Regions from separate parts of the Homo sapiens genome. Here all the other regions are linked to region 1. Evidence: promoter capture Hi-C in human tissues and cell types (Jung and others, 2019). All regions are on one chromosome and are shown on one strand. The core of a region is centred on a gene start or on the middle of the fragment in contact, and the rest is flanking DNA. Distances in the headings are between cores, read along the strand shown. Region 1 holds the start of TECTA (tectorin alpha). Region 2 overlaps TBCEL-TECTA (TBCEL-TECTA readthrough). Region 3 overlaps TBCEL-TECTA (TBCEL-TECTA readthrough).

Region 1 (4,423 bases), core at 1,052-3,551:
TGATATTGGCATAATAGAGCTGCTTCCCTTGAGTGCCTGACCAAGTCCTTGTCATTCAACAGGGCTCTCCAGAGAAAAAACTGCCCATTCGGGGAGTCCTGCTTTGAGTGGAAAGTGATACACTGTGTAGCCTGACCTTGCCCGGTCATTGGCGGAGGGCTGCCCCATGAAGAGTGTGTCCTGGGTTTCAGCACTGGGGCTGAGCCTGAAGGCACTGAGGGCTGGAGGCTGTTGGCCAACTGTGCTTCTCACATCTCTGTTGTACGGGGGTCTAAGTGGCGCATCTCCCAGTCTGCCATAGCCAATAACTGCATCATTTCAAAGTAGCTCCCATCTGACCATCTGTTCCACAGAAAAAGGTATACAAAACCTAAGAAAACAACACAAAAACAAAATAAAACCCATTCTACTTGAGTTTAGAGGACTGTATTTTTTTATTTTGTTTGAGCTGTCTTTCCTCTTGCCTATAAAACAGCATCAACTTCTGCCATTTTTTTTTTATAAAGCACAGTTATCTTGGGTAACTAGCTCCAACCCACCCCCACCGTACCCCACATCTAAATCTTGTCAAAATCTTTGCTCACCTCACACTTTCAACGAAATAAGTCCTCCTGCTGACACAGCATGAAAAGACATTTTTGTCATTTGTCAATCTGTGACCACTGGGTGTACACCAGAACACACACTCACTGACCAGCTTCCCAAAGTGATAAGCCAGCCTGGTGTCTCCCCACGCACCTGGTGTTCCCTTGCAGCCGGATTCTCAAAGGCATTCTAATTCATGTATGCCACCATCTTGTGTATCTGGTTATGCCCAGATGGCATTTATCCGGGCAGCAGTCCTGTCTCAAGAAGGATGGAGCATCCAACATGGGTCAAAAGGGCTGTGATATAAATATCCTAGAATGCATGAAAAAGGAAGAAAGCAATTAGTATGCCACCAGCAGTTAATTAAAACACAGCCAGCGATTTTGCTTCAAGACATTTAGGTTGGCTACTGGACTAAAACCTAAGGCTGGACAAAGAGAATCCTTCTGTAATGAGTCTTTGATTTGAACTTAATTTTATTTTAAATAGGCACCCAAGAAACTAGCTTTTCTGTTATATAAATATACGCCATTCTAAGCACTCCTAGAATCCAAAGAAAAACAAATAAATGTGAGTCATTTGGAAAGAAGCAGTCATTTAACATCTGTAAGTAAATATGTGTGGAGGATTCATAATACCAGTGAGAGAATAAACAATGTGGGAAACCTACTGAATTATCACAGGTTTTTGGAAAAACACGGAGTAATTTAAACTAAAAAAATTTAGCTCGCCAAGCACTCTTGTCCATTTTAAGACAACATGCTTAAACCCAGAATTATATTTCTTTTGTACAGTTGGCATTTAAATGTCTGGTCAGAGAAAATTTGCAGTAATTTTTAAATTCCCATTGATGTGCAGAAGAGTTTTTTTTTCCTGCTACAGTCAAGTTACTTCTTTCTTAATAAATTCCATTTAAACATTTTGAATAGTAGATTTAGCTTATGCCTTAGCCAGTTTTGCTCATTCCACATCTACTGGATGCTTGGAAGCATCTAACCGAGCACGTTTTCCTCTTATTCACATGCCTTTTAAACTATTTACTTACTGCAAATTTTTTATCAGAAGGGGTTTATCTCCCCCCTCTGCCTCCAGTGACCCTCACTGGGTGTTAGGGAAGGTTTCCAGGCCACAGTTTGAGATTTCCCTTGTGGAAGATCGTGTCTAGCGCTAGGTCCCTTGTTAGATTTTGCCTGGAAAGTGCCCTGTCCTATCTCCTGCAGAGCGGTGCATCAGAGAGAAAAGAGAGGGCATAAAACCTAAAAAGTTTGGAAATTTTCTTTAAATACTTCATGCATACCTGTGAAAAAATAGAGTAGAGCCTATCTGTGGCGACTGTTGAAAACCAGAGAAACAAAAAAAGACTTTAATAGAAAACCAACTTCATTTAAATGTTGGAGGCAGCTGCTTTGTTTGGAGTTTTAATCCCATGCTGGTGGATGCTAATTCTGTAACATTATACAGTTGCCTTCTTTTGGGTACAAAGGTAGAAGGGGGGTTTTCTTTTGTGTTTTTCAGTGCAAAGTGATTCTGATCAGAAAGGCCCAAGGTTTCAGCTCCAAGTACCTGACATTTCCATCTGAATCTACTTTTTTTTTCAAAGGGGAAAAAAAAAGGTCTAGTTTTTCAGGAAAAGAACCTCTCTACGCAATCCTGAAACTGATCTTTAGATTTACTTTTCCTTAATCAATAGAAAAAAACTTGATTGCAGCTCAACACTTACCTGTCTCTAGTGCAGGACTAACTTAATTTTTGGTTTTAAGAGTACGAGATTCAGACATTATTTCAGGAATCAGAAATTATTGGCAACAAGTTGAGGAGAACTGACATGAATTCTTGTTTTACCTAATTTTTTCTGGCTTACCAAGATTTGGCTTAATATTTCTGACTCAGTTCCTCCAGCCTCTACAGAACAGGTTAGTGACATTTTTCATAAATACAAATATCTAAATGAATCCTCCTTACTTCTCTCTGAACCGGTTCCCTAAGGGCTCTAGTCTTAAACTTGCACGGCATCTTCTCCATTAAAGCTGTGTGTGATCTCTGCTAAACCTTTGTACCCTTTCCAGCAAAACTGTCTAATATTTAATATGTGCTTGAAATTACAACATATATACTTGACAACTAAAGATTTGCAATAAAACTCTCACAGGATAAATTCATTGCCTTTCCCGTGAAAGTTTGGCTGAAGAATTGTGATAACTTCAAATGATAAGAGGAAGGTTTTTCTTTTTTAAGAATACTGTCAGGAGGAGACTTCATGGTCTAGCCACACGCTTGGGTGATGTCTAACTTGAGCTTGCGTCCGTGTTCTCATCGCAGCTTTGCAGAGTGACACAGACAAAACATGCTCCTGATGGAGGGTAAAGCCACCATGCAACCGATTGTAAACTAACACGAAAACAAGTTTCTCTTTGCTGTGTTCCTTCTTTAATTAACTTGCTGGAACTAATTGGTTGCTTGTGCGCTGGATTCTATTTTTATTGTGATTCCAACTCTGGATTGGTCCTTTTTTATTACTAATGTTTCTATCATTCATTTCACTGTGGGAAGTCAGTGAACAGAGTAGACTGGCCCTGAATCTGGTCAATACTTCAAAATGATGGATCGGCTCCATTCTATGGAGAAGGTGATGGCAGACTCTAAATTCTCCTAGCTGTAGAACACATTGTGTTTTAACCAACTTTTGTTTGATTCTGATGGAAAGCTGTAGTGAAAATTAGGAAATCCAGGTCTCACTGGGGTGTGGTTTCTGCTGCAGAGACACAACCCGGGACCTGCATGCATCTTTAGCGTTGGGTCCTAGTTTTCAGCGCTTTATTTGATGCAGAGGGGATACCTTTCCTTTACGCATACCACTCTCACTGATCCTAAATAATTACTTGACAGTTTGAATGATCTCATTACACTTCCAGACTGGCTTCTTCTGGGCATCTAATTTGTTCATGAAGTGTTGAACTTCGGAGGACCTGCCAGCATTCAGGGGATTTCAGCCCGACTCAGCACTGTTGATGTTGTTATGTGAATTTGTTCTATGACGGTTTTGATGGTCTTGGGATTAGCCACTAAACACACCTGGTGTTCTGTTTACTCTGGCAAGCTGGGGATTTTTTTTTCATTTTCTTTTTAAAATTCCAGGATGAATTATTCATCATTCCTTAGAATTTGGGTCTCTTTCATCTTCGCACTTGTACAGCACCAAGGTGAGTACTACAGAATTCCATAAAGCTCTCAGTTAGCATGCTCTTGAATTGATAAAGAGACACTTTTATTGGAACCACAATTGTAAGGGCAGGTGCATGTGTGTCTACAGATACAAGAGAAAAATGTAATTAAATTCTATTATCAAGGGTAAAATTCATTAACTTTAAATGAGGTTTACTTATATTCCCACTTTTTTCTTATTTAACTTCAAATACTATTTGTATGTACCAGCTTGCCCTGTGCTAGTGGAGTAGATCTTTAAAATTACGCAAAATTATTTCCATTAAAAGTAGATAAGATAGGGGTATGTGCACTTCATGTCTGATCACTGATTTCCATTAAGGCATTTAATTTGTGGTGGAGACTTTAAAGAATCTACTTATTTCGGCCAAAAACTAGGAAATTACAATAGCATTGATGTCAGTGGTTTGTGTATCAGTGACCTTTTACGTGGCCCTCAAATCTAAAACTTAAATAAGACAATTTTTCCCCTCAGTGATTCCTTCTTTTTCTCTGTGTAGCACTGCCCTGGGTAAGTGAAAGGCCACATATGTCTTTTTTCTACTGTTGTTTTGGATTTTAGACAAAGACGGGGCGGTCTACGTAGATTTTAACTTTTTATGGCTAAAATTCT
Region 2 (4,423 bases), core at 1,270-3,769, 50 kb before region 1:
TGCCTAGAAACTAAAGTCTGACTCTATAAGCATGACCCTTCATCATATGGCCCTTTGCTATTTCTAGAACTTTTTCTCCCTCTTTAGCCATATACTTTTACTTGCAGCTCATGATAAACTCAAAATAAAAAGCTTCCTTGCTTTTATTCATTCTGAACCCACTGCTCTCTTTCTTTTCTTGTCTACCTGGCCACTTCCTATTTATCCTTCAAGACTTGGCCCAAGTTGCTATTCCTCTGTGAAATTTTCCCTGGCTGTCTCACAGACAGAGTCAGATTATCGCAGAGCACCTACACTATACCACTGTGAAAGGATTTATCACAGTCTTGTATAATGACTTGCTTACTTGACAGTTTTCCTAATAGACTATGAGCTTATTCCAAGTGGAGATTTTTATCTTTTTTTTATCATAAGCCCAGCATACCAAGTAGTCAAATATTTGTTGAGTGCGTTAATGATTAAATGATTATATCTTAAGGATTAATCAAGACCTCTTGTTCCAACTTTTCCTGTGATCTTAAGAAATTTACTTAATCCTTTAGAGCTTTAGTTTGCTTATCCATAAGGTAGGCTTGCCGATAAAATTAATCATTGAAACACTTAGTAGATATTGAATGCTATACAAATCCTAAGACAGATTTCTTGTTTAAGAAAAACCTATCCATAACCTAGTTTTGGTAAGCTTTTCTTAAATTTCTCTATTTTATGCCCTTGTTAAATCTGGTAACTGTGTTCGTGGTTATATTTCCTACTTTTATTAGGATTTTAACCAAAATTCTTTGCAATGCATGTCACCTATTTCTAAGTGATTTATTAACATATGCAAATTTATAGGGCTATTCTAAAAAATAATTTCTATTTGTATATATATTTATTTACTTATCTGAACAACTTGTATAGTTTACTGTTTAACAAATTACAGATTGTGCCTTCTTGGTCCTCTGCAACATTTAACTGCCATGCATGCTTTATCTGCACTTCAAATTTGTTTCTTTGGAAATACAAAATTTTACAAAGGTTTTGTGCCTGGACCATGTATATAAGCTTTTGCTAATTGGTGGGAACAGTTTAATAGTGATGTAGTTGCTACCTCAGGAGGAAGATGTGTGTAATATGGATCAGTATACAGTGTGTACACTAAGTAATTCAGCATTTTTCCCTGCTTAGACAAAAGTCTATGTTACATTTTTCTCAAGCCACATTGACATATATCCAGAGGGTCACATACTTATTTATACTGTATTTATACTCAGTTTGTGTATTCCTAAGTGCTCTATAGTCTGTTTTCAGGCAGTTTTCAAGTAAATATTTGTTGCTGCTACTTTCAGGTATCCATTTTCTAATTTATTTTTGTTTTCATCATTCCTTTATATTTCCTCTTTATCCTTAACTGTAGTTGATCCCAGTCTTCTAGAGGATATATCAGAACATAGAAAAGGGAGAAATATGACAAAAGAATGTTGATTTTTAGGATTGATTAAACTCTTGGCCAGGCTACAAATGCTTCATAGGTCGCCTGTTTTAGGACATTACATTTCAACCCCATTATAACCCATATATCTGATTACCAAAAAGATAATTTGTCCTTAGCTATTAACGGAATTTATTTCAGCCAGTATTGATAGGGCAATGTGGAACCAGTTGTATAATTTTTCCCTTAGTTTTTTGGATGACCAAGAATATTATAGGTTATGAGTAACTTCTTTTGTAACTTAATTTGCTGGCTGCTATATATCCAGAGACTAAGATAAATATGGATGAGAGAAGTAATACTTCTGGGGAGGCAAAGATTTGTCTTCACCCTTCTAAAATTGGGCACCTATGTTTAAAAATAATGCATTTTTTTTTAGCTTTTGACTTGAATTTTTGGCTGAGTAGATCTTTGTCTGACCTTTCCCAAGCTACCTTCTTTTTACTCCATTCCTTATCAAAACCATTTTATAAAAGAAATTAAACCTAGTGGTTGAGAGGAGGGAGGAAGTAGCCACTCAGGTAAGGTAGAGAATAGCTTAGGTACAGATGACAGATTGTTGTCTTAAAACCCTTTTCCCATTTTTCTTAAATCTTCAGTTTCTTCCTTTTTGGAAGCCAAAGTAAAGGGTCCCCTATTACATCATAGAATTGTAGAAACCTAAAATGTGATCTGAGTTCATCTCCATGTTTCTGCACATGAGCATACTCATTCCAGTTAGAGGAGTCTTTTTTATTTTTAGAATTTAAAAAAGAGAAGTCAATATACTGCCCTAGAAACTCATGGAATGTTTGTCGGCTTTTGGTACTGGCAAGTTTTTCTGTCATAAGTAAATTTATCTGTGTAATGAATATTATGTCTTCCTGAGTCTTATCAATTTGAGGTTACTCAAAAAAACCTTTTTTATTTTATCCCTTTAAAGAAAATATTCATTTATTTCTAACATTTGTTATTTTTCCTGCTTGAATGATTAAATTCTAGTTCAGTTTTACCTTTTAGGATATTCTAGGGTTAACAAGTCATTATTCTGAATATTAATTTTCACTGTACAGTAATGCTGATGCAGACCATGGTGATTACATCATATATCTGCTAGCCTTGGGAAATCTCCCAGAAATTGTTTCAAAACCCTTAAATTATCTATTTTTTAAAGCGTTTTCCTCTTTATTATAAAAATAAAATATGAGTGGTAGTAGTTAGCAAAGGGTTTATGTTTTGTTTTTATTTAACTGGGGTTGTCCTATAAGTTATTCTTCGTGCTTTAGTTGGAGCATAATTCCTGTCCCCCTCCAACCTCCACAAAGAGGTTAAGTATAGCTGGTAAGCATCTTCTGTATGAAAGTTCTTCGTATCGGTATTCAATCATAGAATGCAGTACAGATTGGTTCCTGCATGAACTATTTAGCTGTGTTTTGGTCACAGACTGAGCTCCAAATACTAGCCATATATTGCACAAATGTTTGGTACCATTTGATCGCAAAAGGGATCAAGCAAGAGAATATGTGCACACTGGTATAAATTCCTTACACTTTAAACAGAAGCCTAGTATATTTTCTCTAAAAGGCAGCTCATTTCTTCATTTGTAAAATGAGGATAAAAATGGTACCCACTTTATAGGGTTAGTGTGTGGAATAAGTGAAATAGTGAATGCAGGGAACCTTTTCTTCTCACCTACTCTTCTGAAACTTCTTGGAATTAATCTACTTCTCACTGATTTTAGAGCTCCTGAACTCAATGTTTACACAGTAGATCTGATGTAAAGTACAGATTACTTTTTCTTTCTACCCATGGTTCTCCCTCCTGGATACTCTTTTGGCATTACTTCTGGAGCTCTGAAAAGAAAGATATTCAGGTTGCAACCCTGAAGCTTGTCCCACCTATGAAGCTTCTGATTCAGTAATTATGGTGGAACCTTGGAATCAGCATATTTTAAATTCTGTCAGTGATTCCGATGGGTAGCTAAGGTTGAGATAATGGTTCATATTATGCTTATGTTCATAATAGTTACATTTATTAAATGATTTTTTGCCATTAAGTTATTCAATAAATAAGTGTCCACTATGCAGTAGTGAAGTAGGTAAGTACTATATCTGCTTTTATAGAGCTTACATGCTAGTTGGGGGTACGTAGGGAAACAAGTTTCAAAAAAATGTGTCACTTGCTATGCTAAGCACTTTAATGTGTATCTCATTTAATCCTACCAACAGATGGGAACTATTTTCCCTATTTTACAAATGAGGAAACTGAGATTTGGAAAGATTAAGTCACTTGTCTGAAATCACACAGCTAGGAAGTGTTGGAACCTCGTTTGAACCCAGGCTTTTTGACTCTAAAACTAATCCTAACTACTCTTTTCTCCTTTTCTTATAGCTTTTACTTACCACATTGCCTGGTTGTTTGATGCTTAATACATTTGCTGGACATCTAGCATTTATTTCATACTTGTTTAAGCTGATCCTTCTCGCAGATTGTGCCAACTAGTCTTCAGTTTTCTTTATTCATTTTTTCTGCTTATATTTATGATGTATAAATATGGTATATTGGAAAGAAAAATGGCTCTGAGTTTTAAATCCCAGACGTGACCTTTGTAACTGTAAGGCCTTAGTCAAATTATTAGTCAGATTCCTCATTTATTAAAATGAAAGTAGTATTATCTTGCAAGTTGTTTTGAGAATTTAATGAATAAACTATATCAAAGAGACTAGTACCATGCAGACCAAATAGCTAAGGTCAGTAATGCTCATTTTCTTTTTTTCCTTTTTGTCTACCAAGTTGCTAGCTAAATCGTTGATAATCTTGTTTTCCCTTTCGTTATATAGTTACGGATTTTTTTTTTGTTTTTGAGTAAACATATTTTAAAGTTTGGTACATCTTTGAACCAAATTGAAACTGTTTTCTAAGTGATTGTGATAATGTAGTCAAATTTAACACATGAATTGTTACCAGGTGAAT
Region 3 (4,423 bases), core at 1,235-3,734, 51 kb after region 1:
TTGGAGAAATAGACCCATGTGAAATACTTAAAGAACAAACATCTCTAAATTGGTAATACCTCTTCCCAAATGTTACAATGTATCGCAGACCTTCAGTCACTGTTAACACTGGCATATGAACAAGTTAAACAAATAAATAATAAAAATAAAACAAGTGAATACTGGCCCATGAACAGAAAGACCAACCAACGGAAAGAAGAGAAAGTTCAGAAACAGGCCCAAACACTAAAGAGAAATTAGCGTATGGTAAAGCTGGCATTTCAAATTACTGGGAAAACATATTTGTTATTCAGTAAGTAGTAAAAGGTCAAAGGGCAAACTAGCTGGGAAAAGCTAAATCCTTCCTTCATTTCTTACTCCGAAATAAAATCCGGGCAGAACAAAGATTAAACAGAAAAAAATTAAATCACAAAAATACTAGAAGAAAACAAAGGAGCGTTCTTGATAATCTTGCAGTGGAGAGAACATTTCAGAACAAATTATCCAAGGCTAAAAGGGAAACTTGACAAATTTCATTACATTAAAAATTTTACATCTTTACATGGCAAAGAGATAACAACTTCAAAAAAAGTTAAAAAATTATTTAAAAATGAATACAAAGTCAAAAGGCAAATGATAAATATTTTGTAACACATATGACATACCACAAAGGCCTATTTTAATTTTTTTTTTTTTTTTTTTTTGAGATGGAGTCTTTCTCTGTCACCAGGCTGGAGTGCAGTGGCACGATCTCAGCTCACTGCAACCACCGCCTCCTGGGTTCAAGCAATTCTCCTGCCTCAGCCTCCCAAGTAGCTGGGACTAAAGGCGCATGCCACCATGCCTGGCTAATTTTTGTATTTTTAGTAGAGACAGGGTTTCACCATGTTGGCCAGGATGGTCTCGATCTCTTGACCTCATGATCCACCTGCCTCGGCCTCCCAAAGTGCTGGGATTACAGGCGTGAGCCACTGTGCCTGGCCAGGCCTATTTTAATTTTTAAAGAACTTTTATAATTTAATAATAAAAATTTCAACAACATGAAATGTGAAAAGGATATGAAAAGGCAGTTAACAAAAAAAGACATATAAATGGATTATAAACAAATGAGAACAAGAGGATCAACCTCACAAAGAAATGCAAACTAAATAAGGAGATGGCACATATCGCATTTTAACCTTGTTTCCAAGGATCAGACAATTTGGTGATAAGACAATCAAGGAGAGTGTGGGAAAACAAACCTCCTCCAATAGCGCAGGTAGGAAGACAAATTGGCACAGTCTCTTTAGAAGCAACTTAGCGGCATTCATACCATTTCACCCAGTAATTCCACTTTCAGTAATTTATTCCACAGATGCCCTTACTCATGAGGGCAAAGGTATACATACAGGGATGTTCACTGCAGCATCAGCATAAACACATAAAGTACACACAGCATGCAGCAGTGCAAAAGCAATAATTTGAGGCTAAATGGAATGAATATTGTCATAAAGAAAGCAATGAGCAGAAATGTGTATATATTATGCTCCCATTTATGCAAAAAATAATGGACAAGGCATACATGTATGCTTATGTGCATACACACACACACAGATGGGTGCTTGTATATGCATAGAACACTTCTGGAAAAATTGACTATAGTTTGCTATCGGAGGTTGCCATTTCATCACGCTTTTTCTTGTATGGTTTGGATTTTCTACACTATGCAAGTATTATGTATTAAACTACAAATGTTTTTTAAAAACATGGTATATTGTGAGAGTGGTTATATGAATCAATACATGTGTTAAAATTCATAGAACTGTGTACTCTAAAAGTAGGTGTTACCGCTATATAATTTAAAAAATGAAATAACCCCCCATATAGATACTGTATAGGGTATAGGGTAGAAGTTCCCACATAATGGTAGCTGTGCTTTTAGTATACGTTGATTGAGATAATAGCTTCTACGAAACTTTTTAAGCAAACCTATCTTTAATGATTGACTAATACTGAACACTTACATGCCAACCACTGTTCTGAGCACACAGACTCACTTAATCCTTTGCAATCAGCCATGAAGTGAATGCTATTGGTATCTGTATTTATAGATAAGAAAGCTGAAGCTCAGAGAGCCCGAGTGACGCTCTGGGTCTCTTATAGCTGGTTCCAGAGCCCACACCCTTCACCAGGACCCTACCTGCCTTCTATAGAAGCATCTAGATGCATTTGAAAAATGGCAGAACATAATTGACGTGAATCAGTTTGCACAGACATGTGCACGTGCACACACCCATGCATGCCAGCACGTGTACTCATGCACACAAACACACACGGTGTACATTTGCCTTCTCAGAGATCATGGGGCTGAGGCATCTACTGATGATAAGCTGCTGGCTTAGAAAAACGTTCTGTAGAAGCTCTGGGGTGTAGAGGAGCTGACATTGGTCGAAGAGGGAGAACTACATGGGTAAGGTGGGACTCCCACTGGCACTTGAAGAACCAGGAATTTGGATAGGCTGAGAGGATGAAGAAGGGCATGAATAAGAAAGATCAATGTGAATGAAGACCTAGAGGCAGGAGGAGTGTGGGTGCCCTGGGAGGTTATCAGGTGACATGTCTAACTGGAGATTCAGATGGGCGGTGGGTTCAGGTGGCAGGCCATAGAGGATCTCAATGGCCAGGCTGAGGTGAGGACGACCATGATGTGAGAAGCTCCAGCCACCTCCGTCTGCATGTTGGCCCTTTATTTAAGCAGGAACGAATCAGACCCAGGCTTTCTGTGAGCAAAGAGGGCAGTAATGAAGAAAGGCGGCAGACCTCCTGGCTCCTGCCTCTCCCCGTGCCTTTCATCTCCCTGAGTAGGTGAGCAATGGCCATGAGAAAACCCTCCTCGGTGCCTTGTGATCGTGCGAGTCTTGACTTGTCTCTCTTGTTCCAGCTGTCACCTGCCCTCCAAACAGCCATTACGAGAGCTGCGTGAGTGTCTGCCAGCCCCGCTGCGCCGCCATCCGCCTGAAGAGTGACTGCAGCCACTACTGCGTGGAGGGCTGTCACTGCGACGCTGGCTACGTCCTCAACGGCAAGAGCTGCATCCTGCCCCACAGCTGCGGCTGCTACTCCGATGGCAAATATTACGAGGTATGGGAGGCCAGCCCGGCCTTTTCCTCCTTGCCAATGATCAGATTCCTCTCCAACTCTAAGAGGTTGGTCAGATTGACCAATTTTCCCACTTCATTATGAAGAGCGTCGTGTTCGTGGCAGGGGAATGGGATGGGGGGTAGAGAGGCTAAGCACACTGTTCAGGTGATGCTCTTGGGCACTGAGTGTCAGATTTGGAAAAACACCTGAGTGTCTCCTTCCTCCCTCCTCCACAGTGGCAAGGTCTCCAGCACTCTGCCTCCCCTACTCACTCACATTTGTGTGTCTGTGTCGTGCCTTTCTCTGATTTTCTGTCCTGTGAATCTCAGTTTGAAAGCTTCAGATAGAGCTATAGTTTGGATACACGGTGGCTGTGAATCTGATATTTGTAGCTGTCTTAGCTAAGGACATTTGTAACTGGAAAATATGGAGCTGGAGGCTGAGTGGGGCGGACTTCCCTCTTCTGTCTGTTGAGGCTCCGTGAGGGTAGCTGTGGCTGCCATCTCCACGTGTGCCATTTGTCACTGTGGTATCATCCCTGGAGTTTGGTCTGGACTGCTAATGTGGTGCCCCCACATCCCACCCTCTGCGGCGCCCTCTACAGGAGTTTAAACATAGAGTTCATGAAGATGCCCTTCGTAGATGTTTCTCAATAAAGCATATTAGTTCACGAAATCATTTCACTTTTTGGACTTTGTAATCTTTCCATAATACTAAGCTAGAATTCCATAATACTAAGCTAGAAAAGCTCTTGCCTAGACAAGGTATTTAGTTCATGGTTCGACCTCAAGCCCATTCTCTGTTTAAATGATATCAAAACCATATGTTGGCAAGTTAGATGGTTAACAACTACAGATAATTGAGTATCTGCTGTTTGCAAAGCACTGTGCTGGTGGTATTGTGGGGGATGAGAAAGCACGTCCTCTGCCTTGAGGATCTTAAAAATCTATTCAGAAGAGAGAAACAATGTACTTTAAAGAACAAGAGATCAGTTACAAAATAACCTATCAGCAAGTGAAAAATAATACCCTACAGAACTAATCAATTTTAAGTGAAAAAGAATAGTAGCTTTAAAATAAATCTAATTGAAATGTCTGAATTGGAAATCAGCTAGGCGAAAAATAAATAATATCTCCTTTTTGTAAAGATACATTGACTCATTCAAGTTGCCCTAACTTCGGGGATAAATAAAAGAAATGTGGACATTACCCTCAATTTCACTTTCAGTGGAGAATTTATTTAAATGCTATATTAGAAAGACAGGGAGGAAGTAAGGTAAAATAGTGAAACTAATCAAAGGAGACTTTTTGGGAAAGGGGGTGTT

Evidence for each region. Contacts are between HindIII fragments. The study calls those that stand out against the background at their distance.
Region 2: a fragment that was not itself captured here is called in contact with the fragment with the promoter of TECTA in region 1 in 2 of the 25 tissues and cell types used here (dorsolateral prefrontal cortex and liver).
Region 3: a contact is called between a fragment that was not itself captured here and the fragment with the promoter of TECTA in region 1, in 2 of the 25 tissues and cell types used here (liver and mesendoderm cells).

Annotation. Positions count from the first base shown.
Region 1 is chr11:121,098,942-121,103,364 of GRCh38, forward strand. TECTA (tectorin alpha) reads left to right here and starts at 2,302. Exons shown (of 24, transcript NM_005422.4): 1 at 2,302-2,501; 2 at 3,724-3,788. The coding sequence starts at 3,725. It overlaps TBCEL-TECTA (TBCEL-TECTA readthrough), which reads left to right. Exons shown (of 30, transcript NM_001378761.1): 8 at 3,724-3,788. The HindIII fragment of the contact is 17,013 bases long and covers 1-4,423 here.
Region 2 is chr11:121,048,695-121,053,117 of GRCh38, forward strand. The region is part of intron 3 of TBCEL-TECTA (TBCEL-TECTA readthrough); the gene reads left to right. The region is part of intron 4 of TBCEL (tubulin folding cofactor E like); the gene reads left to right. Among named protein-coding and RNA genes, the nearest start is that of TBCEL-TECTA, 27 kb to the left of the region's middle. The HindIII fragment of the contact is 3,312 bases long and covers 864-4,175 here.
Region 3 is chr11:121,149,982-121,154,404 of GRCh38, forward strand. It overlaps TBCEL-TECTA (TBCEL-TECTA readthrough), which reads left to right. Exons shown (of 30, transcript NM_001378761.1): 19 at 2,900-3,099. TECTA (tectorin alpha) reads left to right here. Exons shown (of 24, transcript NM_005422.4): 13 at 2,900-3,099. Among named protein-coding and RNA genes, the nearest start is that of TECTA, 51 kb to the left of the region's middle. The HindIII fragment of the contact is 8,423 bases long and covers 1-4,423 here.